Regions from separate parts of the Homo sapiens genome. Here regions 2, 3, 4, 5, 6 and 7 are each linked to region 1. Evidence: promoter capture Hi-C in 16 types of primary human blood cells and fetal thymus (Javierre and others, 2016). All regions are on one chromosome and are shown on one strand. The core of a region is centred on a gene start or on the middle of the fragment in contact, and the rest is flanking DNA. Distances in the headings are between cores, read along the strand shown.

What was found. Contacts are between HindIII fragments. The CHiCAGO score rates a contact against its expected background, and 5 or more counts as called.
Region 2: a contact is called between a fragment that was not itself captured here and the fragment with the promoter of DNAJB11 in region 1, in 1 of 17 cell types (fetal thymus). The highest score is 5.1, in fetal thymus.
Region 3: a contact is called between a fragment that was not itself captured here and the fragment with the promoter of DNAJB11 in region 1, in 13 of 17 cell types (non-activated CD4 T cells, naive CD4 T cells, fetal thymus and 10 more). The highest score is 25.1, in non-activated CD4 T cells.
Region 4: a fragment that was not itself captured here is called in contact with the fragment with the promoter of DNAJB11 in region 1 in 1 of 17 cell types (activated CD4 T cells); the score reaches 7.4 in activated CD4 T cells.
Region 5: a fragment that was not itself captured here is called in contact with the fragment with the promoter of DNAJB11 in region 1 in 5 of 17 cell types (non-activated CD4 T cells, total CD8 T cells, naive CD4 T cells and 2 more); the score reaches 7.9 in non-activated CD4 T cells.
Region 6: a fragment that was not itself captured here is called in contact with the fragment with the promoter of DNAJB11 in region 1 in 1 of 17 cell types (total CD4 T cells); the score reaches 7.1 in total CD4 T cells.
Region 7: a contact is called between a fragment that was not itself captured here and the fragment with the promoter of DNAJB11 in region 1, in 1 of 17 cell types (total B cells). The highest score is 5.4, in total B cells.

Annotation. Positions count from the first base shown.
Region 1 is chr3:186,568,828-186,572,646 of GRCh38, forward strand. It overlaps DNAJB11 (DnaJ heat shock protein family (Hsp40) member B11), which reads left to right and starts at 1,893. Exons shown (of 10, transcript NM_016306.6): 1 at 1,893-2,138; 2 at 3,268-3,424. The coding sequence starts at 2,071. It also overlaps a transcript of TBCCD1 not described here. RefSeq lists a silencer at 1,905-2,144. The HindIII fragment of the contact is 6,099 bases long and covers 1-3,819 here.
Region 2 is chr3:185,814,131-185,817,949 of GRCh38, forward strand. All of the region lies in intron 2 of IGF2BP2 (insulin like growth factor 2 mRNA binding protein 2), which reads right to left. Among named protein-coding and RNA genes, the nearest start is that of IGF2BP2, 9.0 kb to the right of the region's middle. The HindIII fragment of the contact is 1,154 bases long and covers 1,368-2,521 here.
Region 3 is chr3:185,943,757-185,947,575 of GRCh38, forward strand. No RefSeq gene overlaps it. Among named protein-coding and RNA genes, the nearest start is that of TRA2B, 7.7 kb to the left of the region's middle. The HindIII fragment of the contact is 4,953 bases long and covers 1-3,819 here.
Region 4 is chr3:185,988,610-185,992,428 of GRCh38, forward strand. No RefSeq gene overlaps it. Among named protein-coding and RNA genes, the nearest start is that of TRA2B, 53 kb to the left of the region's middle. The HindIII fragment of the contact is 1,906 bases long and covers 1,001-2,906 here.
Region 5 is chr3:187,139,134-187,142,952 of GRCh38, forward strand. It overlaps RPL39L (ribosomal protein L39 like), which reads right to left and starts at 363. Exons shown (of 3, transcript NM_052969.3): 1 at 80-363. RefSeq lists enhancers at 1-75, 1-43, 84-233 and a silencer at 274-503. The HindIII fragment of the contact is 485 bases long and covers 1,742-2,226 here.
Region 6 is chr3:187,112,445-187,116,263 of GRCh38, forward strand. No RefSeq gene overlaps it. Among named protein-coding and RNA genes, the nearest start is that of RPL39L, 25 kb to the right of the region's middle. The HindIII fragment of the contact is 1,384 bases long and covers 1,037-2,420 here.
Region 7 is chr3:186,046,217-186,050,035 of GRCh38, forward strand. ETV5 (ETS variant transcription factor 5) reads right to left here. Exons shown (of 13, transcript NM_004454.3): 13 at 98-2,644. The coding sequence ends at 2,423. Among named protein-coding and RNA genes, the nearest start is that of ETV5-AS1, 31 kb to the right of the region's middle. The HindIII fragment of the contact is 971 bases long and covers 1,352-2,322 here.

The DNA of each region.
Region 1 (3,819 bases), core at 643-3,142:
AGGAGGCGGAGGTTGCAGTGAGCCAAGATCACGCTACTGCTCTCCAGCCTGGGCGACAGAGCGAGACTCTGTCTCAGGAAAAAAAAAGAAATAAAGAAAAGAAAACAGGGTGGTGTAAGAGTAAGGAACTCAGTAGGGGCTAATTTTGATTAATTGGTCAGGGAAAGTCCTCCCTGAGGTGGCGACCTTTAAGCTGATATATGAGTTAAAGAAGGAATCACCCATGCTAGCACATGAGGGAGAGTACAGTGTTTCAGGCAAAGGCAATAGCTAGCACAAAGGCCCTCGGCAGGAATGAGCTCGGTGTATACAAAAAAAAGAAAGGAAGCAAGTTTTGCTGGAGCATGGTTAGGAGTATAATAGGTTTACAAAGCATAAACGGCTTTGTAAACTAGCATGGAGTTGGGATTTTATTCTAAGTGCAAATGAAGAGCCATTCCAGGCTTTTAAACAGGGGAGTGACATGATTTGACTTTTATTTTTTATTTATTTATTTATTTATTTATTTTGAAACGGTGTGTCACTCTGTCGCCCAGGCTGGAGTGCAGTGGCAGGAACTCGGCTCACTGCAACCTCCACCTCCCAGGTTCAAGCAATTCTCCTGCCTCAGGCTCCCGAGCAGCTGGGGTTACAGGCGCTCGCCACCACACCTGGCTAATTTTTGTAGTTTTAGTAGAGACAGGGTTTCATCATGTTGGCCAGCCTGGTCTCAAGCTCCTGACCTCAGGTGCTCCGCCCGTCTCGGCCTCGCAAAGTGCTGATTACACTTTGGGTGGGTGAGCCACCGCGCCCGGGCTTTTTTTTTTTTTTTTTAAATCATGGAGTGAGGGACAGGGATGAGCAACATATATTAAGATATTAAGGAAGATATTAAGAGTGGGGGCAAGGAGGCCAGTTAGGAGGCCCTGGCCAGGTGAGAGATACACTGTGACCCAGAATCCTGGTAATGGAGATGTAGTGAACAGATTGAAGTATAGTTCAGAGGTAAAGAGTTGGATAGCTTATGCATGAAAGGAATAAAAACACCTAGAGCTTTGTCCTGATCAACTAGGTGTTGTGTAACTGCGATGAGCAAAATCGGGGGGAAGATGGGGAATCAAAGAGTTCTGCTTGAACCGTAATAATGGTTTTTACTCGTTGCCTGCTTACTATACGCCCGATGATTTACCGATTTTTTTCCCTGTTAAAATTCACAGAACTGCCAATAAGTGCTTTGCCTCAGTTTTGTTGATAAACTTAGGCTCAGACTTGGGAGGAGGGGAGGGGTGGGGGGTCTCACCACTAAGAAGCGGTGGAAGCCGAATCCGAACTTAAGTCGGTCTGTCATCACTGTAGCCTTTCCGAGACAGTTGTCTTATGGAGTTGCTTGGAGAACGTAAAATAAGAGGCCTAAGCAATGCGTCTGATGTACACCTGTCGTGGAATAACTGTTCCCGCTCATTCGGCCGCTGTACCTCTGCTCCCTCATTCGGAGCGTAGCTGGGTATGAATGAAATTCCGGGCTTGTAGCACAGAGAAAACTTCTCTCCCACAATTGGTTGGTGCTGGGGAGGAAGCTCCTGATTGGTGGAAAGTCCGAGGAAGTGGGCAAGCCGGAGGGATTTCGTGTACCTCAGGTGCCCTCACTCTGACCGGCCCCCTATCATTACGTAATTTTCTACGACTCGCGGTAGCTCAGGCAGAGCGGGTTCCTGCAGCGGCGCGACCCTCTGACGTCTCCGCTTCTAATTGGTCAAGAGCTGCGACTGCAGTTCTGAAGCCTAACTGGTTGCCCGTGCCGCCTCGGAGGTGAAGTGTACTGCGCTGATTGGCTTCCAGGCGCCGGCCGCGTGTGATGTCCCGGGCAACGATTGGCTCTCGCCTACCGGGGGCTTCTCTCACCGGGACTCGGGACTCCCGGGAAGTGGACCGGCAGAAGAGGGGGCTAGCTAGCTGTCTCTGCGGACCAAGGAGACCCCCGCGCCCCCCCGGTGTGAGGCGGCCTCACAGGGCCGGGTGGGCTGGCGAGCCGACGCGGCGGCGGAGGAGGCTGTGAGGAGTGTGTGGAACAGGACCCGGGACAGAGGAACCATGGCTCCGCAGAACCTGAGCACCTTTTGCCTGTTGCTGCTATACCTCATCGGGGCGGTGATTGCCGGGTGAGGAACAGACACTCGCAGACAACGGGGCCTGTGGGTCAGCCTTTGCTGGGGGGTGGGAGGGGGTGGGGGAAGTGGCATTGCCAGACTGACGGAGTGGAGAGGGGCATCGCTGTGGGTTGGCGGGGTGGCGGAGGAAGGGGTAGTATGGGCCAGGCTAGTGGGGTGAGAGGAGAACCGTGGGTGACACCAGTGAGAGGGCCTTAGGTCCAGAGAGGGTCTTAGGTAGAGCTAGATTTGCCCAGAGGAGTGGGAGTTGGATGCATTGCCAAACGGCATTTGGGGGATGAGGGAAAGAAGGTGGTTGCGAGCTGAAGCAGTGTCACGTAGAGCTGGGGAAGAAAGAGGGATGCCTGACTGTAAGGAAAGATAGTGACAGTGCCAGGCTGAGGTTGAGGGGATGGACGTTTGTTTGATCAAAGAGGTGAGTTGCTGTGCCCCGCTGAGGTGGAGAAGCGGACGATGCTCTATGCCAAGCCTTCGAAGAGCCATTCTGGGGCTGACATTAAAGTGGGTGGATGATGCCAGCCCGAGTTGGGACTGAACGAAATTGGATGCGGGATGGGAACAAGAAGATCTTTAGACAGCCCTTGTACTTCCCAGCTTCTTGAGCTATTTATTATCTTAAGTTGCTTCATCTTTAACATTCTGGCAGTGCTACTGTTAGGACATTTATGTGGCATAATCTTTTTAAAGAAGGAAAATCATCCTTTGAGAGTGTTATTTGACTTTTAGAAAAGTCAAAATCATTTGGAGCCAGTATAGGGAAAGGGGGGAAGAGTTAATTTGATTATATGGTTATTGCCTAAAGATAACATGAGACCATAAAATAAGGAAGTGGTTTTCTTGACCGAAGGTGGTTCTGAAAGAAAAGTGCCACAGATGTTTTGAATAATCCGAAAAGAAGTATATAGCCTCTTACTGTGATTACTTCAATATATAAGATTCATTACAAATTCTGGTGTTCTCTCTTTAGTCATTCTTTGTGTGTGTATGTGTCACATAAACCTTCATTTTTATACCTCTTTGCTCAGATACAAACCTAAATGTAGAGGAAAAATAAATCTTTTACTTTGAAAAATGTAACATGTAACTCTTTAATGAAGTATTCTCTCCCTCTACTTCCCAGACGAGATTTCTATAAGATCTTGGGGGTGCCTCGAAGTGCCTCTATAAAGGATATTAAAAAGGCCTATAGGAAACTAGCCCTGCAGCTTCATCCCGACCGGAACCCTGATGATCCACAAGCCCAGGAGAAATTCCAGGATCTGGGTGCTGCTTATGAGGTGAGTTGGGAAAAGTGATAAAGTACGAATAAAATCTGTAGCTCTAGAAAAAACATACAATACAGAGAAACACTCCTTTCAGCTCACATTTATTTATTTATTTATTTATTTTGAGACTGAGTCTCTATTGCCTAGGCTGGAGTGCAGTGGTGCAATCTCCGCTCACTGCAACGTCCACCTCCTGGGTTCAAGCAGTTCTCCCGCCTCAGCCTCCCAAGTAGCTGGGATTACAGGTGCATGCCACCACACCTGGCTAATTTTTGTATTTTTAGTAGAGACAGGGTTTCACCCTGTTGGCCAGGCTAGTCTTGAACTTATTATAGATTAATAAGTAGATCAACTGATTGGTCTGTCGTTCAATCAGTTTGGGAGCTAGAACCAAAAATAAAAAGAAA
Region 2 (3,819 bases), core at 695-3,194, 750 kb before region 1:
GTACACATGGTTTAGTCACCTACACTTCTATGGTCTCCTCCTTTCTCCTCTCCTCCCTCCCTTTCCCTCCTCCCTTCCTTCTTTCTTAATAATTTAAGAGGCTCAACTGCATTTTTTCAGTGTTAAACTGCTTTTATCATCTACCTCTGACTCTCTTAAATAAAGGGGCACAAAACATTGTACTTCAAAACCTTATTCATACAATGATAAAGAAAAACATCCACTGAAATTTCGAAGTATGCATTGTTAAAAATCACAAGGATCAGTAGGGACCAAAGTAAAAGGTCTCCATGTAATCCAAAAATACTATATAGCCTATCCTCACATGAGCTTTTTCAAAAACACCCTCTATTTAATGAATTGGTATGAGGTTAACCTGTCCAAAGAATCACCACTCGATTTTTTGTTTCATTTTTCAAAGAGAAAGAAAAGATATAGTAATAAAAATGTCTTTCCTGGTAATTTTTAAAGCTCTATTAGAGGTTCTTGACTGAGGAAAGTAATTATTTTATCTCATAAATTATATAAAATTATGTTCTTGTCAAAAAGCATGGCGTCTATCTAGAAGAAAACCTCTTATATATCTCATTTCATTGGTGGTTTAACTGTATCTTAAGTCCTATGTTACTAAACCAAAAAAGTAACAAAATGCATGAGATAAAAGTAACAAATGCATAAGATACTTAAGTATTGTATCAAAAAGTGCTTTCACTGACTTTTTCACGTGTCAAAGAGGTTTAAAATGTTCTGTTAATAAGGTGAACCATTTTCTAAAAAGCAATTTACAAAAATTCCATTATTTTCCTTCTCTAAGACACAGATATTTTTAAAAATACATATAAAAATGAAAGCATGCCAATCTTTGTGCAACATTCTGTATCCTAAACAAAAAAACCTCAAGTTTTTTTTCAGGATTTGAAAAAATATATATATCTGGGTCAAAGGCATGGAACAGGCCCTCCTCCCACACTGCATACATGTATGTTTTTTACACTTAACTGTCAACCACAATGATTTTTAAAAAAACCTCTTTCTCTTTATATAATTATAAATGCTTCTACTATAGGACTACTTCAAGGAAGTTCTTTCAAATTATGACTAACACTTTTAATTCTTTTCAATTATATTAAATTAAAAATATACTGAACTTGAGTTCCTAATCTTTCTCAGCATAGGTTTTATATATGGAAATTTTCTCTTATTCTAAGTTAGGAATAATATACAAAGTTACTTTATAGCCTGTATACATATTATCACAACTTTCTACTTCATTGCTAAGGTTCTGTTGCAGTATTCAAATGAGATGGACAACAAGCCACTGCCTTCTGAAGTTCTGGTCAGGAGCAAGGAGTTATTTTAGAGTCTGAAGCTTTAGAGCCCTTTGTGTAAGAAGGATAAAGACGGATCTCTTCAGGCTGTGGGGAGGATAAAACAGGAAGCCTAGTCCAGTGCCTAGCACGTAGCAGCCACCCAGTATTAGTTAACTCTCTTCCTCTCCCCCATCTCCTGAGTCAGAATTCCACGGAAAATGCCATATCCCACTCTGGACTGTACTAACTCAAAGAAATGCATGGGGAGTTGGAAATAACCTTCTTTCACCTATTTTTTTTTCCTTGATAATTCCTCTCTCCCTCCCACCAGCACCATAAACAGTCCATAAGAGTTAAAGGAAACGAAGATAAATGCAGGAAAAGTTTACAGTTGAGGGGAAATGAACTGTACTTCACATGCTTCATTATTTAGCATATTTTTTTGTGCGATTATAAAATTAATAAAGAACTCAGAACTTTATGGATACTATCCCTATTAACACTCACCCCATAGTCAAGACAGTATGAGAGGCCCAAGGCCTTATTCAGTACAGAAAGTGACGTAGAGAAAGATACCACCTCTGGGAAAGACCTGGCAGTTCCTACCAGGGAAACACGTAAACCACAACACAGCCCTGACCTTTGCAACAGGCTGTCTGAACCCCGTGAAGAACCCACCCAGGAGATTCCTTGAGCTAGACTTTCATTCACCACATGGCACATAGTCTTGACCCGGGTGACAGTTCGCTGTCTAATCTGTGTGGCTCAGATGTTGAAAGAAATGTTTGTCTTGTTATGTCAGGAACACAACTGCCGAAAAAAGCAACATAACAACAACAACAACCCCACAACCTGCTTAGGTATATTCCCCACTTCTGTCTGTGGGCAAGCACAGAGATGGGAAGACGTGCAATGCTACCTTTAAAATTACCTCTATTTCTAACTATTTTTTTCTAAAAACTATAGCAAAGTACAGATCACTCAGACTGATGTAGCATCATTGCAAAGGTTCAATTCACAAATGTATTTTCATATATTTCTACCACCCTCGAACAGCATTCTTCGAACTTTACAACACATTCAGCTGACTTCTTTAATGTAAAACGTTAAATGGGGAGGAAGTACAGTGGAGCGAGACTCAGGGACCTCAAAAGACCTGGGTTCTAGCCCTACTACTTAATTAACAGTCATGTGGCCTAAACAAATTATTAAGCTTGTCTGGGGCTGAGTTTCCTCATCCAAAAAAAGAGATAGTATCAATTGTCCTATTTTTCACAAAATTATTATTTGGAATAAATGAAATAATGTGTCAAAGAGGCTGGAACAGCATCAGTACTGTATGAATATTAAGATGCAGGCAAAAAATACTCCTCCCTGAGATAATACTACTACCATTGTTTAAATATCAATACATGAAATCATCAACCTTTCTGATCACATTTAAAACAAAAATTTAAAAATTCAAGCTTCCCACTACAGCAAATCCTTACTTTGAGACACATTAATTACATGACAATAAGAAAAACTGAAAATATAATTCTTATTGCAATGTTCCCATACAAATTTTTCTGGTCATTAGATGCAACATTTATTTTGATATGGGTAAATAAGAGAAAGCTCAAAACATACATCAGAACTCTTAATTTTCATTTATCAGACTTATTAAAATATCTGCTTTATTTATGAAATGTCCTTGACACTAAACAGAATGGGAAAATCCTATCTGAATGTTCACATTTTAAGAAATAAAGTGTAGAACAGATAAATAATGAGGAATAAACAAAATGTATCTCAAAAATACAGATATTATTTAGTGAAAAGCAGAGGCTTGGGGAGGAGACATAACTATCAAATGATGGAACAGGGCTAGCTTTTGGGCTTGAATGCCTCCTATTAATGCAAAAGCATCCATTTTCACTGTTGTACTTATTCTATCTCAATATACCATCAAACTCTAAACCAAATTAAAGAAATAATTATTGTATTCCTTCTTCCCTTTGGCAGCCAAGCAACAGAATCTGAAGTTTTCTACAAAAGAAAATAATTTTTCTTCACTATTTTATGGAGAGACCAGACTAAAGTCCATGATCAAAACAGGAAAAGTAAAACCTTAAAAATAATGCTCTGAGCACTCTGCAATTTTGCTGCCTAAAATAGAACCCATAGAGTCCATGCCACCAAATGAAAATTATAAGTTTGTAAGCATGAAGTCAAATTATAAAGTAAAAGATTTAAAATGTTTTAATGGTGATGATAAATGGGAGGAAAGACTTATCTTCATTGGTAGGTGTTTGCTGTTTATTTGCTATTATTTGTTCAATGATACTGCTTTTGAATGAATACCCAAAATAATTTGAACATGAATTTGAATATAAGAAGGATAAAACTTTACTAATAAATTCTGGGGGCATGTTTTGTTAAACAGAACACTCCCATCTCTCAATTTAAGAAGTTAATCATAGCTTTTGAGAGATAATGCTTTTGACTGAAAGTTTTAGAGCATGAACTC
Region 3 (3,819 bases), core at 879-3,378, 620 kb before region 1:
CAACTGTCCCTGACACCTTAAAGGTTTCTGGAAAATCCCAGGGGCAGGTTTTCATGAAGTTCTGCCAGTGTGGCATCACGGCAAGTTTTCTGTGTTCCAGAGATCCATGGCTGTGCCCGCTCCAAAGTCTGAATCTGAGCTCTTGAGGGAAAAGGAGGTTCTTCTTGGGCACTCTATCTCAGACCTAGAGCTAGGGCTCCTCCTTGTACCTGCTATTCCCATATTATTAAGAGTTCTCTTTACTTCTTACTAGTTAATCCGTCATTACCCCATCCTCACTTACCTCAGTACCCCTATTACTAACTTATAGTTAGTAATTACATATATGTAACTTCCCCTATTCAAATTACTGTGTATTTGATCTCTCCTGATTGGAGACATCAGAATTCAGAATGGACAGACTGATTCAGAATTTTTGCCAGGAGTGGTCTCTCAAAATACTACTGAGATGTGGAGGTGAAGGAGAAACGGAAGCTAGAGTAACTGCTCATCATTTTATCCCTCCTGACCTCATTTTTCTTCCTAGCTAATGGTATCAGTGGTACCATCTCCAAATGGAGACATCAAGTGAGTACTGGTTAGAGCAGTCTGGGGCTCAGGGGATAGCTGGGTGGAATATACGGAAATGAAATTACTAGTATAGAGATAGTCAAGGAAACCTTACTTTGTGTAAGTGAGATCTTCAAGGGAGTGGTGTAGGAGTGCTCTCAGAGAACTAATGCATCTCTGTATAAAAAGTGACTGAACACCCACTCACTACTTGGAAGTATGAATGTGGAAGTCAAAAACTTTGAGACTTCATTAAGGCAGGTCTTCACGAACCAGCTTAGGACTGAGTGGAAATTAAGAACAACATTGAGTTACTATGCTGACTATGGCTACGTATTGTAGATAATTGAGTTGAAACAACCAATCACTTTCAATGTTCTGAACCCTAAAAAAGGTGGATCACCTAAGGTCAGGAGTTCGAGACCAGTCTGGCTAACATTGTGAAACACTGTCTTTACTAAAAAATACAAAAATTAGCCGGGCGTGGTGGTGCATGCCTGTAATCCCAGCTACTCGGGAGGCCAAGGCATGAGAATCACTTGAACCTGGGAGGCAGAGGTTGCAGTGAGCAGACATCGTACCATTACACTCCGGCCTGGGTGACAAGAGTGAAACTCTGTCTCAAAAAAAAAAAAAAAAAAAAAAAAAAAGAGAGAGAGGCCGGGTGCGGTGGCTCACACCTGTAATCCCAGCACTTTGGGAGGCCGAGGTGGGCGGATCATGAGGTCAGGAGATCGAGACCATCTTGGCTAACTCGGTGAAACCCCGTCTCTACTAAAAATACAAAAAATTAGCCGGGCGCCGTGGCGGGCACCTGTAATCCCAGCTACTCAGGAGGCTGAGGCAGGAGAATGGCATGAACCCGGGAGGCGGAGCTTGCAGTGAGCCGAGATAGCGCCACTGCAGTCCGGCCTGGGCGACAAAGCAAGACTCCTTCTCAAAAAAATAAAAAAAAAAAGAGAGAGAGAGAAGAATGAAATAAAAGACTTTCTCCAGATACTTAAGATAAATCTGGGAAAGAGAGGAAGAGAATAAAAATTAGAATACCCAAATAACAAAATTTAGAGCTCAAACATTAAACATATGAAGAAAATGTTTTGTCTTAGAATTATTATTATGTTACTAATATAGGGTGGGGATAAAAATTCAAACAATAAGAAATGTGCAAAGTGAAAAATGCAAACCCTATTTTCTATCCTCTCTTTCCCAGTCTCGCTCCTCAGAGGTCACCCTAGTTAAAAAATGTAGTGCATAACCTTCTAGACCTTAGATAGATAAATTTAAATTTTTATTTTTATTTTTTTATTATTTATTTATTTATTTTGAGACGGAGTCTTGCTGTCTCCCAGGCTGGAGTGCAGTGGCAAGATCTCGGCTCACTGCAAGCTCCGCCTCCCGGGTTCATGCCATTCTCCTGCCTCAGCCTCCCAAGTAGCTGGGACTACAGGTGCCTGCCACCACACCCGGCTAATTTTTTGTATTTTTGGTAGAGATGGGGTTTCACCATGCTAGCCAGGATGGTCTCGATCTCCTGACCTCACGATCCACCCGCCTCGGCCTCCCAAAGTGCTGGGATTACAGGCATGAGCCACTGAGCCCAGCCTTAAAATTTTCTTTTCATAAACAAATGGAATCATGCTATACATATTTTTTATTTTTTAATTTTTATTTATTATTTTTTTGAGACAGAGTCTCACTCTGTTGCTCAGGCTGTTGTCTCGAACTCCTGACTTCAGGTGACCCACCCGCCTCAGCATCCCAAAGTGCTGGGATTGCAGGCATGAGCCACCATGCCCCGCTCATATTTTTAAATTTTAACATGGTATTCTGTAACTTGCCTTTTTCACTTAGCAATCTAAAATATGCTAAATATTGTTCCACGTCAGTACACATAGATTTATCTCATATTTTAAAACAGTTGTATGGTATTCCGTTGCAAATATGTGCCATAACCTATTATACCATTCCTATTTATGGAGACCTGGAGGGTGAGAAGCCAGCCATTTAAAAAGCAGAGAAAACTGTGTTCCTGGGAAGGGATTAGCAAGGTCACAAAGGCACTGGGGTGAGGATGTTTGTCGGGTTCCAGGAACAGAGAGACCCAACCATGGGATCCCAGTGGGTCCATCTGAGGACCAGAGACTGTGGTACAGAGAGCAGGGCTTGGACTTCCTGGGGTTGTTTCCTGCCTCCACAGTAGCTCTCTGAGAGACCCTGGGCAAGTGTAACCTCTGTGCCTCTGTGGCTTCATCTGTGAAATAGGAATGATAATAATACCTACTTCCTATGCTTGTTGTCAGGATCCAAAGAATTACTATTTTACATAAAAAGCCCTTAGAACAATGTCTAACTCATAATAAGTCAGCAGTGATTATGCAGGTCATGGAAAGGATGTCAGATGTTATTTAAGTGCAGTGGGGGCTGGGCACGGTGGTTCACACCTGTAATTCCAGCACTTTGGGAGGCCAAGGCAGGTGGATGGGTCACTTGAAGTCAGGAGTTCGAGACCAGCCTGGCCAACATGGCGAAACCCCGCCTCTATTAAAAAAATACAAAAATTAGCCAGGCGTGGTGGCAGGCACCTGTAACCCCAGCTACTCGGAAAGCTGAGGCAGGAGAATCTCTTGAACCCGGGAGGCAGAGGTTGCAGTTAGCCAAGATCGTGCCACTGCACTCCAGCCTGGGCAATAGAGTGAGACTTTGCCTCAAAAATAAATAAATAATTAAATAAATGCAATGGGAAGCTATCGAAATGTTTTAATTAGGGGGAATGTCTTGACTCAGTTTTTATTTTTATAAGATTACATTCCCCATTGGATGGAGAATGGGTTGGAAGGAGGTAAAAGCTAGGATACCAGTTAGGAAGCTATTGCATTTGTCCAGGTAAGAGACCATTGCAACACAGTAATAGCAAAGGAGATAGAGAAAAAAGGGCAGTGGTAGATCTATTTTGAGTCCAGAATTGAGTGGACTTGTAATAGGGTAAGGGGATGGAGATGTCAAGAACTCAAGAGGGTCTATGGTGCCCCATACTGAGATGGGGAAACTTGAGGAAGAAGGAGTTTGGGCAGGGCTAAAGGGACAAGAGTTTGATTTTGAATTAAGTTTGAGATGCTTTGAAACATCAAAGTAGAAGTTGTCAAGTAGGCAGTTGAATATACAAATATAAAACTGGATATTCTTTAAAATCTTATTATACATTTGGAAGTTATAAATCATATTTGCTTTCATCCATGAATTTTTATTTAACATGGAGTAATTAAGTGACTA
Region 4 (3,819 bases), core at 704-3,203, 580 kb before region 1:
AAGCCAGGTGGGGGCAGCTGGCACAGAAAAATGGGGTCTGTAGTTCCCCTGCCTGCCATCAGGGACCTGAAAATCCTAGGGGAGTTTTTAATTCCCAGTGGCACTCTTGCTGGTCCTCTTGTTCATTAACATCTGTGTCCCTCCAATTTGGGCTCTGGCTTGAACTCTATGAACTGCTCAAAGAGGCTCTTGCTACCTCTTTGTTCAAACAGACAATGGCTGCAATAACAAAGAGGAAAATCAGATGCAGGTGAAAGTTTATTTTTAACATTTCCGAGGCCAAATGAGGATTTAACATGAAAATCAGAGCCCTCACTTCCGCCTGCTCTCTCCAAAAGTGGCTGGGGTGCTTTTGGCTGGCCCAGACTCCAACACTCTTGGATCCCTTCCAAATGAGTACACCACTGATGAGGTAGACAGTTTAGTCTTTCTGAGCCTTCTTTTGGCAAGAAATAGACATTTTGTTTGGAGATGAGGTTAAACTTGAACCCGTACATTGTGATTAGCTTAGGAAGCCAGGCTGCCCTGGCCACCCCAAATATGTGAGGTTGTCTTTACATGTTATTTTATTTTATTTTTTTGGGACAGAGTCTCGCTCTGTTGCTCAGGCAACAGAGTGCAGTGGCACAATCTCAGCTCACTGCAACCTCGCCTCCCAGGTTCAAGCAATTCTCCTCCCTCAGCCTCCTGAGTAGCTGGGATTACAGGCATGCACCACTACACCTGGTTAATTTTTGTACTTTCAGTAGAGACAGGGTTTTGCCATGTTGGCCAGGCTGGTCTTGAACTCCTGGACTCAAGTGATCTGCCCACCTTGGCCTCCCAAAGTGTTGGGATTACAGGCATGAGCCACTGTGCCCGGCCCTGTCTTTACATTTTAGTCAAATCAGACTGAAGCCTGAACAAATGTGTAATAAAGTGAAAATTCTTTGAAACCATGAGTCTGAAAGCTCCCTTGGGGATGAGCTCCTAGCTTGCCTCTCTTGTGTGGCTCGTCTGAAGCTTGCAGATGGCAGAGGCCTGTGAGGTTCCTGTGAGAAACAGCAAGAATTACCAGGAGCTGGTGTGCCTGGAGCATCTGCATTGTGCAAGGTACTTAACCCCTTTATCCAGTCATCATAACCATCTCCTGAGTTCAGAATCATTATCAGCAGTGTTTGAGGGAACCAGCCCAGAAAGGTGCGGAGTCAGCCCATTCCTTGCAGAGCATACCTAAGATTATTCGACTCCAAGGCCAATTTTCTTTCCATTGTACCATAGTGTGAATGAGCATTAGTTTTCTGTTCCCTGATTTCCCACCTACCAGCAGGAAGCAGAAAAGTGCAGAAATGGTCTTGTGCTTTTGTCCTCCTGAGAACCCAGCAGTGGTAGCTTTCCTGTAGAAACTCAGAAAGGAGAAGTTATGGGTTCATGATAGCCATGATTATAATAAAATGGTTCCAGGAAACTGAACAAACCAACAACAACAGCAACAAAACCCGAAATGGCTTGCTCTTCTTCTTATGCTTCACTTTAAGCTAAATCGGCTTTCTGATATAAAATGGCCTTCCTTTCTGTTTCAATTCTTCCATTGGCAAGTCTTGGGCAAAGGGTGGATTGACGAAGAAAGGAAAAGGGGAGCAAGTGGTCCTAAGAGCTAAGAGCTGCCCTTCTTCTTTTAAGACACCTGGTGAATATTCCCTCCTCTTGCTTGTGTTTTATTTCAGCCTGTCTTCCCCAGGGCTCCTCCAAGGTTCTGACTGGTCAGCCCACTACTACCTTGGTACTTACCCTTTTTCCAGAAAAAGAGGTATTCCTTGAGGTTACCAAATCGGTTCTCCTCAACTCTCCATCTCCAGCCAACACCTCTCACCCAACGCTGCCCTGTGTTACCCCATTTACCCCCACTACTTTTTTTTTTTGAGACAGAGTCTCACTCTGTTGCCTAGGCTGGAGTGCAATGGCGTGATCTCAGCTCACTGCAACCTCTGCCTCCGGGGTTCAAGTGATTCTCCTGTCTCAACCTCCCAAGTAGCTGGGATTGTAGGTGCCCACCACCACAGATGGCTAATTTTTGTATTTTCAGTAAAGACAGGATTTCACCATGTTGGTCAGGCTGATCTTGAACTCCTGACCTCAAGTGATCCACCCACCTCGGCCTCCCAAAGTGCTGGGATTACAGACGTGAGCTACCACCAGTAACTTCTATAAAGCTCAACAAGGGTAAAGTCAAGGGCAAATCTCCTCCCTCAAACCAACTTCTTTCTTTCTTCTCATCTTTAACAGGGCCACTGCCAGCATCCAGGAGCCCAGGCTTGCAGTCAACGACTCTTCCTTTCCCATTAACTCCCATAGTCTGTCATTCACAAATTCCTATTTGTCCTTTCTTCCAAATGCCTCTTGCATTTCTTACTTTTCTCTCACTCCCTCTATCTTCATCCTAGCCCAGAGCCTGCCCCTGGGCTGGTATCCCCATAGACTCTTCCTTTTCTAAACTATCATTCTACTCCATTCATCTATTCCTTCATTCATCAGAAGAGCATCTGTGGAGCACTTAGTGCCAGACACTGCGCTAGACACTAGATGCACCCGTAACACAGACATGGTCCAGCTGGGGAGGCAGGTAATTGACAGGCAACTACAGTGTCTTGGGGTGAGTGTGATGATGGAGGAAGCCCTTAGCTGGGACCGTAATCCAGATGGAGAGACGTGTTGGGGAGGCCTACACACTCCTACTGGTTTCATTGTCCTAAACACTTTTATCCTGTTTCAACTAAAATTGACCTTCTCTTACTTTTGTTCCTTTGGGTTCAAACTTTGTAACCTGAGATTCTAAGGCCTTCCTTGTCAACCAAGCCTCATTCCCAGGACCCTCTAGTGGAAGAGGTAGTAGTAACAATGATAGTAATAATAGCACATCTTCATTAAGCTTATTTATCTTAAATAACAGGCCCTCTTCTAAGTACTTTTCTTATGTTAACTCTTCACAACATTCTCTATGAAGGAGGTACAGGTACTATGATTAGCACCACTGACAGAAGGGGAAACCGAGGCATGAGTGCTAAAAGGCAGAATCTGGGTTCAAGTCCAGGTGGCATGGCTTCCAGGCTGGCATGTGATGATGACACCATTGTGTATCAGTGTAACCTGGCCGTGTGGACCTCAGACTCTAAATCATACATCCTAAGTTCTCCCCAAAGACCTTTTTACTCCTGATCCCCTCTCCCCTGAGAATGCCCTTCTCTTTCTTATCAAACGCTATAGAAGGTTTTATTTACATATAAAAACAGAGCCTTCTTCCATGGAAAAGGCACTGGGTCTGGACTCAGTTCGATGTTCAAATCTTGTTTCTGGCTGCCAAATCCTTTCTTCTCCCTGACTCTCAATTCTTCCATCTCTGCAATGGGAATATTACTATTCTCCTCACACAGCCATTCTGAGTATGATGTGAAAATAATGCATGTGAGTGTGCTTGGAAAACTGCAGTCCCATACAAATTTACAGGAATCAACATCATTTTTTTCCTCTGGCTTCTCAAAATAAGAATGTTGTTATACAGTCTGAACTTCACTACAGCAAAGTTTGCTTACACATTCCACTGGGCATGGGACTATCTTTCTATACCTCAACTTCATCATCTGGGCAATGGGCATAATACCAGCTGCTTTATAGAAACATTTTGGGAATTTAATGAATTTTTTTGTTTTTTGAGACAGAGTCTCACTCTGTTGCCCAGACTGGAGTGCAATGGTGCGATCTTGGCTCACTGCAGCCTCTGCCTCCTGGGTTCAAGTGATTCCCTTGCCTCAGCCTCCTGAGTAGCTGGGATTACAGATAGGA
Region 5 (3,819 bases), core at 734-3,233, 570 kb after region 1:
CCAGCCCGTGACCCTCACGCCGCCCTGCTCGTTGGGCGGACCGGGCCCTGGCGGCGGGTGAGGAGGAACCTTTACTTACCGGCGCCCTGGCCTCTGCTTTTTTCCCACTCTAGGACGCAAATCTCGATCTGCAAGGGCCTGGGGCGCGGGCGGAAAAGGCGGGCCCAGCTCCCTCAGGTCTGCGTGTCACCGACCCGAACCCGCTCCGTCGTCCTGACGCCCCCGGCCTAGCTGCAGCCACCTTGTCGCAGGGGCCTTGGTGTCTCTGAGACTCCGAGACGCCTCGCCCCCACCTGGCGTTCGGAGGCGGTTGCCTCGCTGGGCGCAGCAATTCAACCGCCGCGCGCCGGATGCTAAGACCGCGATTTCCCCGGATGCTAGGGCGGTGATTTCCCCCGTGACAGGCCCCGCCCCGGCCCCGCCCAGGCCCGGGCGGTCCCGCCCCACTGAGCTGTGGCTCGGGGAGCCGTGGGTCCGACTCCTGCGTGTGATGTGTCACCAAGTTGACTTTGGGGTCCCCCATTCTTCCTTAGTTCTCTATTTTACCTCAGCGCGTTGTCTAGCTGCTGCCTGGCCACGGTACTTAGCACACAGCGTGACTTAATACTGGATAAACGAGGAAAGGATTCGTACGCCCTGGCGGGGCCAGAGGCTCACAGCTTGGGTTCCCGCGAGCACACGAGCCAGGAACCGCCAATGCCTCCAGGGGGCGCTCTCCCTCCCATCGAGCCACCGCCGGGCCATTGGAGACCAGGAGGACCTCTCAGCTCCATCCCTGCGTCTCTAACAATTGTCTCATTTCCCTGCCTGGAGTCAGTATTACCACTCCCATAACACAGATTTTTAAAATGCAACTAAATTTTAAACGAGTCACTTTATTTAAAAACAACATGAACAAAATGGGATTTCTGCTAATGCAAATATCTATACAAATTTAACGATTTTGGTTCTAATTCTAGATGAAAAGTCAAATCTCCTGTTACATATGAGAAAAGTCAAATCTCCTGTTACATATTAGAAGTTTACCTCTTGTTACCTTTACTGCAACTGCAATGGCAGTTTCAACTGTTTCAACCAAGTAATGTAGTTGGAAATGCTGTTATTAGAAGTATATCTTCCCAGCATTTCGGGAGGCCAAGGTGGGTGGTTTACTTCAGGTCAGGAGTTCGAGACCAGCCTGGCCAACATGATGAAACCCTGTCTCTACAAAAATACAAAAACTAGCCAGGCGTGGTGGCGGGTGCCTGTAATCCCAGCTGCTCAGGAGGCTGAGGCACGAGAATCGGTTGAACCCTGGAGGCAGAGGTTGCAATGAGCTGTACTCCAGCCTGGGCAACAGAGTGAGACTGCATCTCAAAAAAAAAAAAAAAAAAAAAAAAAAAAAAAAAAAAAAGTGGATATGACAGTTCGAATTAGATCTAAAACCTTTCCTAATTACACCAGTTAAATCATGAAATCATGCAATAGTAGAACAGGTGTCTTACCTACCTGCATTATCCTGTAAATATTGACATGTTATTCTACATAATCATAAACTGACCGATCACACATATCTTTAAATCTAATCATCATAACTAAAAACTGTATTTGAATAAAATTAGTGTATTTCTAAATCTGTCTTTAACAGACACAAAGATGTAAATTTGAAATGTCTTGGTAAATGAGGTTAACACAATATAAATATTTTTGACGAATTCATCATAATTTGTTCATTTTAAGGAGATTGATTTTATTTTCTTGAAGCTTAAGGAGGACTTTGACATTTTAAATGTATCTAAAATTTAAATTTTATTAAATTTTACATTTCACATTTCTTTTTTTTATTGATTGAAACAAGCATTTCACATTTCATATTTCTTTTTTTTATTGATTGAAACAAGCATTCCATAGTCATTTCAAATAGTGTACAAAGTATTTTAAAATGTTTTTCTGGCCGGATGCAGTGGCTCACGCCTGTAATCCCAGCACTTTGGGAGGCCGAAGCGGGTGGATCACCAGGTCAGGAGATCGAGACTATCCTGGCCAACATGATGAAACCCTGTTTCTACTAAAAATACAAAAATTAGTCAAACGTGGTGGTACGTGCCTGTAGTCCTAGCTACTCAGAAAGCTGAGGCAGGAGAAGCGCTTGAACCTGGGAGGCGGAGGTTGCAGTTTTTCTTCAAAGACCTATCTGATTTCCATATGCAGGATAACACATTCAAACTCTTATTTGTTGTTAATGTAAGCTTTAATTCATATAGTTGTTTTTTTTTTCTTTGAGGAGTCTCTATCGCCCATACTGGAGTGCAGTGGCACAATCTCACTGCAACCTCCGCCTCCCAGGTTCAAGTAATTCTCATGCTTTAGCTTCCCAAGTAGCTGGGATTACAGGTGCATGCCAACATGCCTGGCTAATTTTTGTATTTTTAGTAGATACAGGGATTCACCATGTTGGCCAGGCTCGTCTCGAACTCCTGACCTTTGGTCATCCACCTGCCTCAGCCTCCCAAAGTGTTGGGATTACGGGGTGAGCCACTACGCCAGGCCTGCTTTTAATTTTGTGAATGGTCTTGATAACATTTCATTGTTCATTGATTAAATTCATTGTTGTGATGTTTTAAGCTTGGTGACTTAATGTTGTTGATGAACAATGCAACTAGTTGCCAAAAGCCTGATATTACACTTTACTACCCAACTACAGCTGATGCTCAAATAATGACATTGGGATATGATTTTAAAATTTATTTTCCTGAAATAATGTGTGTGTCAAATCTTAACACCCCATTGTATTCCTTGTCAGTAACTTTGAAGACAACAACAACAAAAAACCTCCTTATCTTTATATCACTGTTTTGGCCTATTTGCATTGCTATAAACGAACACTTGAGGATGGATAATTTATGAAGAAAGATTTATCTGGCTCATGTTCCACAGGCTGTATAAGAAGCATGGTGCCCACATCTACATCTAGTGAGAGCCTCAAACTGCTTTCACTCATGGTGCAAGGGAAAGGGGAGCAACTTGTGCAGAGATCACATGGCAAAAGACGCAAGAGAGAGTAGAGAGGGAGGCTCTTTTTAAATATCAGCTCTCAAGGTGTATTAGTCCATTTTTACACTGCTAATAGAGACATACTGGAGACTGGGTAATTTGTAAAGGAAAGCAGTTTAGTTGACTCACAGTTCTCCATGGCTGGGGAGGCCACACAAAATTTACAATCATGGTGGAAGAGGGAGCAAACATGTTCTTCTTCACATGGCAGCAGCAAGGAGAAGTGCTGAGCAAAAGGGGGAAAAACCCCATATAAAACTATCAGACCTCATGAGAACTCAATCGCTATAACAAGAACAGCATGAGGGTTAACTGCCCCATGATTAAATTATCTCCCACTGGGTCCCTCCCACAACATGGGGATTATGGGAACTACAATTCACGATGAGATTTGAGTTGGGCACAGCCAAACCATATCACGAAAGCACTAAGAGTGCGAAGTCACCATCCCCCAGAGAGGGCATTAATATATTCACGAGGGATCCACCTTAAACCTCAGGACCCAAATATTTCCCATCAGGCCCCACCTCTAACATTAGGGATCAAATTTCAATATGCAGTTTGGGGGACGAACGTCCAAAGTATAGCAATCAGCCTTTTAAAACTTACCCTTTTCATTTTGAGATAATTGCAGATTTACCTGCAGTTGTAAGAAGTAGTATAGGGGCTGAGTGTGGTGGCTTATGCTTATAAACCCAGTGCTTTGGGGGGCCAAGGTGGGAGGATCTCTTGAGCCCAGGAGTTTAAGACAGTCTGGGTCATACAGCAAGACCCTGATCTACAAAA
Region 6 (3,819 bases), core at 479-2,978, 540 kb after region 1:
ATATTAAATATTCTATAAGCTTCTTTTTAATCCTTCCTTCCTTTCTCTTTCTCTTTTCTCTTCTCTTTTCTTCTTCCTTCCTTCCTTCCTTCCTTCCTTCCTTCCTTCCTCTCTCTCTCTCTCTTTCTTTCGAGACAGAATCTCACTCTGTCGCACAGGCTGGAGTGCAGTGGCATGGTCTTGGCTCACTGTAACCTCTGCCTCCCTACCTCAAGCAATTCTCCCACCTCCGCCTCCTAAGTCGCTGGGACTACAGGTGTGTGCCACCACACCTGGCTAATTTTTGTATTTTCAGTAGAGACAGGGTTTTGTCACATTGGCCGGGCTGGTCTTGAACTCCTGACCTCAAGCGATCCGCCCGCTTTGGCCTCCCAAAGTGCTGGGATTACAGGCATGAGCCACCACGCCTGGCCTATAAGCTTCATTTTGGAGGGGAGTCTCTGGGGGCGCTGTCTCTCCTGAACTGGTGATCTCTAACCCTACATTAAACAAGTGTTCTCCTAGAACTTCATTTCATCATCATCTTAGGAATTTCCTTTGCTCCTCTGTGAATCTTGTTCCTTTTTCCCTCACACTGCTTCTTTCTTAGTTTACATCTCCTTGCTTTTGTGGGACATACCAGAACGTGGTTTTTAGAGAGAGAGGGCACATGGGAGGAGGCAGCAGGGTGAAGGTGGGAATGGATGGCTCAGAGGAAACATGCCATATAAGGAAATGTGAAGTTATCACCTGACAGTAATGCAAGGACACCGTGTTGTGTGCTCTTGGAGGTTCTTCCTTCAGAGACAATAAATTTCAACTATACTGGATTTGAAAGGTAAAGCCTTTAAGATAGAGCTTTATATTTTTTGGTGTGCATAACAGGCTTGGATATCTCCTGGAAGACACACTATTCCTCCCCCAAGTACCAAAACACAATCATTAAAGAAGCTGTACTTCACCACATTGACAGAAGAGGGCACCATTAAATGAAGAATCTTGTAAATTAGCCCACATCCACAAAAAGAATTACAAAAAATGGAATAAATCTATGCAAAGCTTCTTAAAGAAAGAGACTCAACACACCTCAAGTGATAAAAATTTTCCACCACTCCAAGGGAGGTAAATACAAAAATGACCATGAAGCAGAGGAAAACTGCAATGCTACACTCCAGACTCAAATAACCTCAAACAAGTATAGACATGTGAAAAGCTATACATATATATACATATATGTGTATATATGTATATATATGTATATATGTGTGTATATATGTATATATTTGAACCTCCCAGGTTCAAACATAAATTTTAGAACTATATTTATTTTTTGAACCTCCCAGGTTCAAGAGATTCTCCTGCCTTAGCCTCCCAAGTAGCTGGGATTACAGGTGGGCGCCATCACACCCAGGGAATTTTTGTATTTTTAGTAGAGACGGGGTTTCACCATGTTGTCCAGACTGGTCTCAAACTCCTAACCTCAAGTGATCCACCTGTCTTGGCCTCCCAGAGTGCTGGGATTACAGGCATGAGCCACTGCGCCTGGCCTGAAAAACTATCTTTAATCAGAAATTAAAATATAAATGGATTTAGAAAAAAATGGGAAGTAATGAACAGTGTGTTGATTGAACTCAGAAAGAAAATAAAAGAAAAAGAAAAATAATCTTAGGATTGAAACATAAATTTTAAGAGGGTACTTATATTGGTTTCCTAGGGCTATCTTAACAGATTACTATAAACTGAGAGCTTGAAACAATAGGAATTTATTTTCCCACAGTTCTGGAGGCCAGAGGTCTCAAATCAAGGGGCTGGCAGGGCTTGTTTCTTCCCGAGGCTCTGAGGGAAGGGTCTGCTCTATCTCTCCTTCATAGCTTCTGGGGGCTGCCAGCAATCCTTGTTGTTCTTTGGTTTATAGATGCGTCACTCTAATCTCCACCTTCCTTCCCACATTACCATCGTTTCTATGTGTCTTCTCTCCTTCTATTCTAAGGATACTTGGAATTGGAATTAGGGCTCAACCAGAAAACCTAGGATGATTTTATCTTGAGATACTTAATTACACCTGCAAAGACCCTTTTTCCAAATAAGATCATATTCCCAGGTTCTGAGTAGACATTTTTGGGGTGTGGGGGTGGGCGTGGTCATCATCACCTCGCTATAGCACCCAAAGGAGAATGTACTCAGATGGAAATTTAATATGGGCACTGAACAAAGGCAAACAAGCAAGAAAATGAAATGAAATAAAGAAGTGAAATGGGTCAGGAAGAAAGTGATTGACAGGGAAGACAGTCCAAAGCAACACTGGTATAACTGGAGTACATGAAGAAGAAATAGCAAACAATGTAACTATCATTTAAAACTATAATTGAACTGTTGAACTGGGTGACAGGGTGAGACCCTGTCCCTAAAAAAACAAAAACAGAACTGTAATAGAAGAAGAAAGCTTTCCAGGAGTAAATACAGGTTTAACTTTAAAAATGCCCAAACTATTCCCTATTTTTTATTCCCACCAGCAATGTATGAGAATTTCAGTTGCTTTGCATCCTTGACAGCACTTGCTATTGTCAACTGTATTCTTTTGCTTTTTTTTTTGTTTATTCATTCTTATAGGTCAATAGTGGTATTTTACTGTAGCTTTATTTTGTATATCCTAAAAATGATGTTAATTGCATATCACTATGAACCTCTTTTAATGTGCTTATTTGCCAACTACATATCATCTATGATGAAGCGTCTGTTCAAATTCTTTGCCTGTTTTATAAATTGTTGTTTCCTTATTATTGAACTTTGATAGTTCTTTTTATAATCTGGATATAAGGCTCTTATTTGATATATGTAGTATACAGAGATATCTAGAGAGAGCAAATATTCTGCTTCTGATGTTACTTTTCATTCTCTTAATGTCTTAAAGAGAAATGATTTTAAATTTAATAAAGTCCAACTTATCAAGTTTTTAATTTTATGAATTGTGTTTTTGTTGTCATATTTAAGACACCTCTGCCTCACCCAAACTTAAGAATATTTCTTTTATGCTGTCTTCTAGAAGCTTTATACCATTAGATTTTACATTTAGGTCTATGATCCCATTAGAGTTTATTTTTGTATATGGTACAAGATATGGATCAAGGTGGGTTTTTTTTTTAACATGTAGATGTGCATAATTTGTTGTAAAGACTATCCTTTGTCCACTGAATTGCCTTTGCACCTTTGTCAAAAGTTCATTGATCCTCTATGCATCGATCTATTTTTTAAATTTCCTGTCTTGTTTCTTCATTCTACTTGTCTATCTTACTTCACCAAGCCTACATTAGCTCAATTACTATAGCTTTACCATAAGTGTTAAAATCAGTTAGGGCCCAGTGTGGTGGCTCATGTCTGTAATTCTAGCATTTTGGGAGGCCAAGGCAGAAGGATCACTTGAGCCCAGGAGTTTGAGATCCACCTGGGCAACATAGGGAGACCTCATCTCTACAAAAAATTTTAAAAATTAAAAAAACTAAAATCAGTTAGTATGAACCCTCCAAATTTGTTGCTTTTTTCAAAATTATTTCGGGTATTCTACATTCTTTGCATTTCCACATAAATTTTAGAATCAACTTATTTCTACAGGAAAGCCTATTATGTTTCTGATTGGAATTGTGTTAAATCTATAGGTCAATTTGAAGAAAAATGACATTTTACCACTACTGAGTTCTCCAATCTATGAATACAGTATATCTCTCCATTTATTTAAGGCTTTGCTTTCTTTCAGCAGTGTTTTGCAGTTTTCAGCATACAATCCTTTGCATATTTTTGTTAGATTTATTCTTAAGTATTTTGTTTTTTGATGTATTGTAAATG
Region 7 (3,819 bases), core at 587-3,086, 520 kb before region 1:
TTGTTGAGAGGGCTAGGGCGGGGGCGGAGAGAAAGCCAGGGGGCTTTTGCCTGCTTTAAAATTAGACCAATGAGGGCAAGAAAGAGGCAGGTTCGGGTGCTTGGTAAACGAAAAGCAAACTTCTTTATTGTACACAGTACAGAATATAACGCAGCTTGGCAGGATGCATACGGCCCTGCGCAGGGGAAAGTATTTCAAATCAGCTGGCAGGTTCAAGCCTTTCTGCACTGTAGACTTTCCACACTCTGGAAAAGAAGCAAACAAACAAACCCCAAAGAACCCCCGAAAAAAACAAAAACCATCCGGGAGGTGCATGAGTCCAATGGGAATGCAACCGTGATGCCGCTGTCCTATGCCCAGTGACAGCACAGGTCACGTAAGTTACAGCAGGGGAGGGGTAGCTCAAGCTACAGAGGATTATTGTCATATTGCTAAGACAGCATAAATCCATTCAAAAGAAAAAAAAAAAAAATCCAAACCAGGGTAAGTAAAGAAAGGAAAACCAAATCTATACAGCATTTACAACAAATAAATCTCTAGCCAGCTGGGGGTAAAATATGCATCTATGTATAGACTATGTGTAGGTTAAGAAAGCTATAAATATGGTTTAGAAAGAGTCCTTTGATTAGAGTACAATGCTAATTAAGGCCCAATCTACAGGTTTACCACCTTTGTGGGCTAATTAGCTTCCAATAGAGGAGAATCTCATGTTTCCATAGCTATAAAGTGCACCCCTTATCCCTGCGAACCTCTTCACAAATGTGCTGTTGGTCATAAGGGGGACAGTTTGAGACTATGGAGTGCTCCATGAATAGAAAAGCAGTTCAAAGCACGTGTCTCACACTCACGGAGTCAGCACTGCCTCCTTCACATACGAGGAACAGTGTAGTCATTCTTAATGTACTAAGTGTCACGGGGAGCACAGAATTCTACCAGCAGAGCAGGCAGCAAGGTACCACCAGTAACTTTTCCTCTACTTTGAGCTCAACTTTCACATAGCTTTAGCTTGGTTGTTTAAAACTTTTCCAATATAATACAGCAATGAGAATAATTTCTTTTTAAAAAAAGGCAGGAATCTAGAATGCTAGCACTGTTGCTTACCTGTCAGTATCACACGTAAGTCTCAAACCCTACTGAATCACACAGGTAGGGTTTAAAGTCCAAGATTTAAAGAAAAAGGAAAACAAAACAAACTGATGAAATGGAAATTGTCATCAGTCATGCCCAGGGAAGAATCCCAAGGGTTTTCACCAGGTGACCAGGTTTCCAAAGGACATGACACATGTTATATACATATGCTTTCCAGAGAGGGCATGTTAGTGAACACGGGGAACTATACATAGAGAATCTAAGCTTGTGTCCAGGCTGCCCTGCACACTTCAAAAATGTACAACTCAGGTGCAAATGTTCCATCAGGTTGTCTGGTGCAGAAAGCACAAAGCAGGCAACAAGGCGGGCTTTCACATGGCCAAGGGGAAGCCTCAGCAAAGCCCCTCTCAAGCTGCAGTGTCTTCATAAGTTGGCACGGCCCTGGCTAAAGGACACAGTGCACAGTTACCAAAAGGTTTGTTTTTGTTTTTTGTTTTTCGTTTTTTTGCTTTAAATACCAAAACTACAAAAATCAGTTTATAAACTGTTTTTCCAAAACAACCACCAAAACAAAACAATCCCCCAAATCAGGGCAAAACAAAATACTGTCAAAAGTGTTAATCGCCCTTCTCCTAAAATAAAAGTCATCCACACTCAGCCACGTGATTGGGAAGAGAAAGGGGGCTTGCTCTACTTGGCGACCACATGGCCGGGTGGTTCCCAAGAGTAGCCATGGTTTATGATTTTGAGAACCACGGAGTGGGGAACAGCTGTTCTGACTGCCCCCCTTTTTCTAGACAAGGGGTAATATTTCAGATTCAGCTAGAAGAGCTTTCCAATGTTTAAGATGTATTTTTAACCCTTAATGGTTTGAGCCTCCCCAACTTAGCCTACTTACTTTTCTATGGGTTTGTGATTTTTCAACAAATTGTGCAAATCAGAGCCCTTCTATGTAAAGGCATTTAGTAGTCCATGATCGATGCAGATTGTCACATACTATGTCCCGTTTTGCGGGTACTAACCTGAACAAGATATTGCTTTGCATGTATTGTCCATGGTAAGGAGACTCCATTTTGATCTCTTCCCAGAAACCTCATCAGAATCAAGAGTTGAGGCACTGGCCTTTTGGTGGTTTTCTGCCCCTCCCTGTTCCCACTCCCCAGCCAATGTATCTGTCTTTAAGGGTGCCAATCCAGAGACAGCTTGGGTTCTCCAGATAATACTCAAAGGGCAAGCTTTAGGAACAACCAAAAACACAAACAAAACCACTGCCCTTGTTTGCCTGAATGGGAACTGCTAGCTCTAGGGTTTGGCCACTCCGCCACTCAGAAACTTAGTAAGCAAAGCCTTCGGCATAGGGGAGGCTGCTGCAGCGGTCCATGTCCAGGAGGTAAGCGGGGCTGTCTTCAAAGTGGGTCAGCGGCAGGGTGTCCTCCTCGCTGAGGTGGCACTCGGACTCTGCCTTCAGGAACGGACGCTGGTTATCCGGGAAAGCCATGGAGAAGAGGGCATCTGGGTCACAGACAAATTTGTAGACGTATCGCTCTCCAGCCACCTGCGGGAGAACACACACCTTACAGGGCCCAGTTGGAACAGGGCATGGGATCAGGGGAAGAGAACGAGGTATTCCTAAGTCACAAAGCCAGGGACCAAAGGAGCAGCCGATTACCCCAATCACTCAGACTTATTTTGAGAACTCCTGGGAACCTATTATCTGCCAAGTGTTTTACTGACACTACAGCAGTTAAAAAAGAAGATATCTGAATTTCGAATTCACACTAGATGGACTCTTAAAAGAAAATCTTCACTTTCTGTCTTCCAGTGACAGCTTTGAAAGCATGGTTATGCTGAGCCTGGAGTCTGGTGTTCCAAAAAGGTTTAAGGACTGACAGGTGCAAGGCAGAAGCCTGACCACATTTTTAGTCACTTCCAGAGTTTACAGTCTTCACAGTATGGCCTTGTTATTTAGAAAGGTTAGAAATCTGATGAGAGCGAGCCTGCGCAGAAGCCTTAAGTATGTTCCAAAGCTGAAAAGAATTGCTTTTGGCTTACCTGCAGCTTTAAATGACTCACCGCATGGCTCTGCTACACTGAGGGAACCGCTAACTACCTTTCTATGGGTTTTCTGCATTATAATATTAGAACCAGAAGGTCTTGGTTGTTCAAGGACCTCATGGTATGTGGCTGATGAGACATCTGCGTCAATGGGATCACCTTCTCTCTGCTGGTTGTTCAGCAATAGTACAAGAGGCACCTAATACCGAAAATCAAACCCAATAATCGGCTTCTGTCTGGAGACGCAGAGGGGGAAGGGAAGGCAGCCAAATTTACTGATAAGATAAACATTTTAGATTTAAAAATGCAAACTGTTGAGTTTAATCCTGCCCTTCAGTCATTCTGCTGTGATTCTAAAATCTTTTTTTAATTGAACAAGTATGGCTCTGCTTCCACATCTCTACCAATCAACCACCTCTAGTTAGTGTTGTACGCTGGTTTTACCTTAAAGCCCAACCCCAAAAATTAGTTTGTGTGGGAGAGTGAGGCAGGAGAGCACAGTGGAAATAATCCTAGATCAGAAGCTGGGAGTTGCACGGCTTCCAGTCCTGGTTTAGTCACTAATGAGTCTTAACCTCTGTGAACCTCAATTTTCCCTTCAAAAATGGAGGGCATGGGACTACAGCTTTTCTAAGTCTCTCTACACACCGACGGGCTATCATTCACCTTTTAATG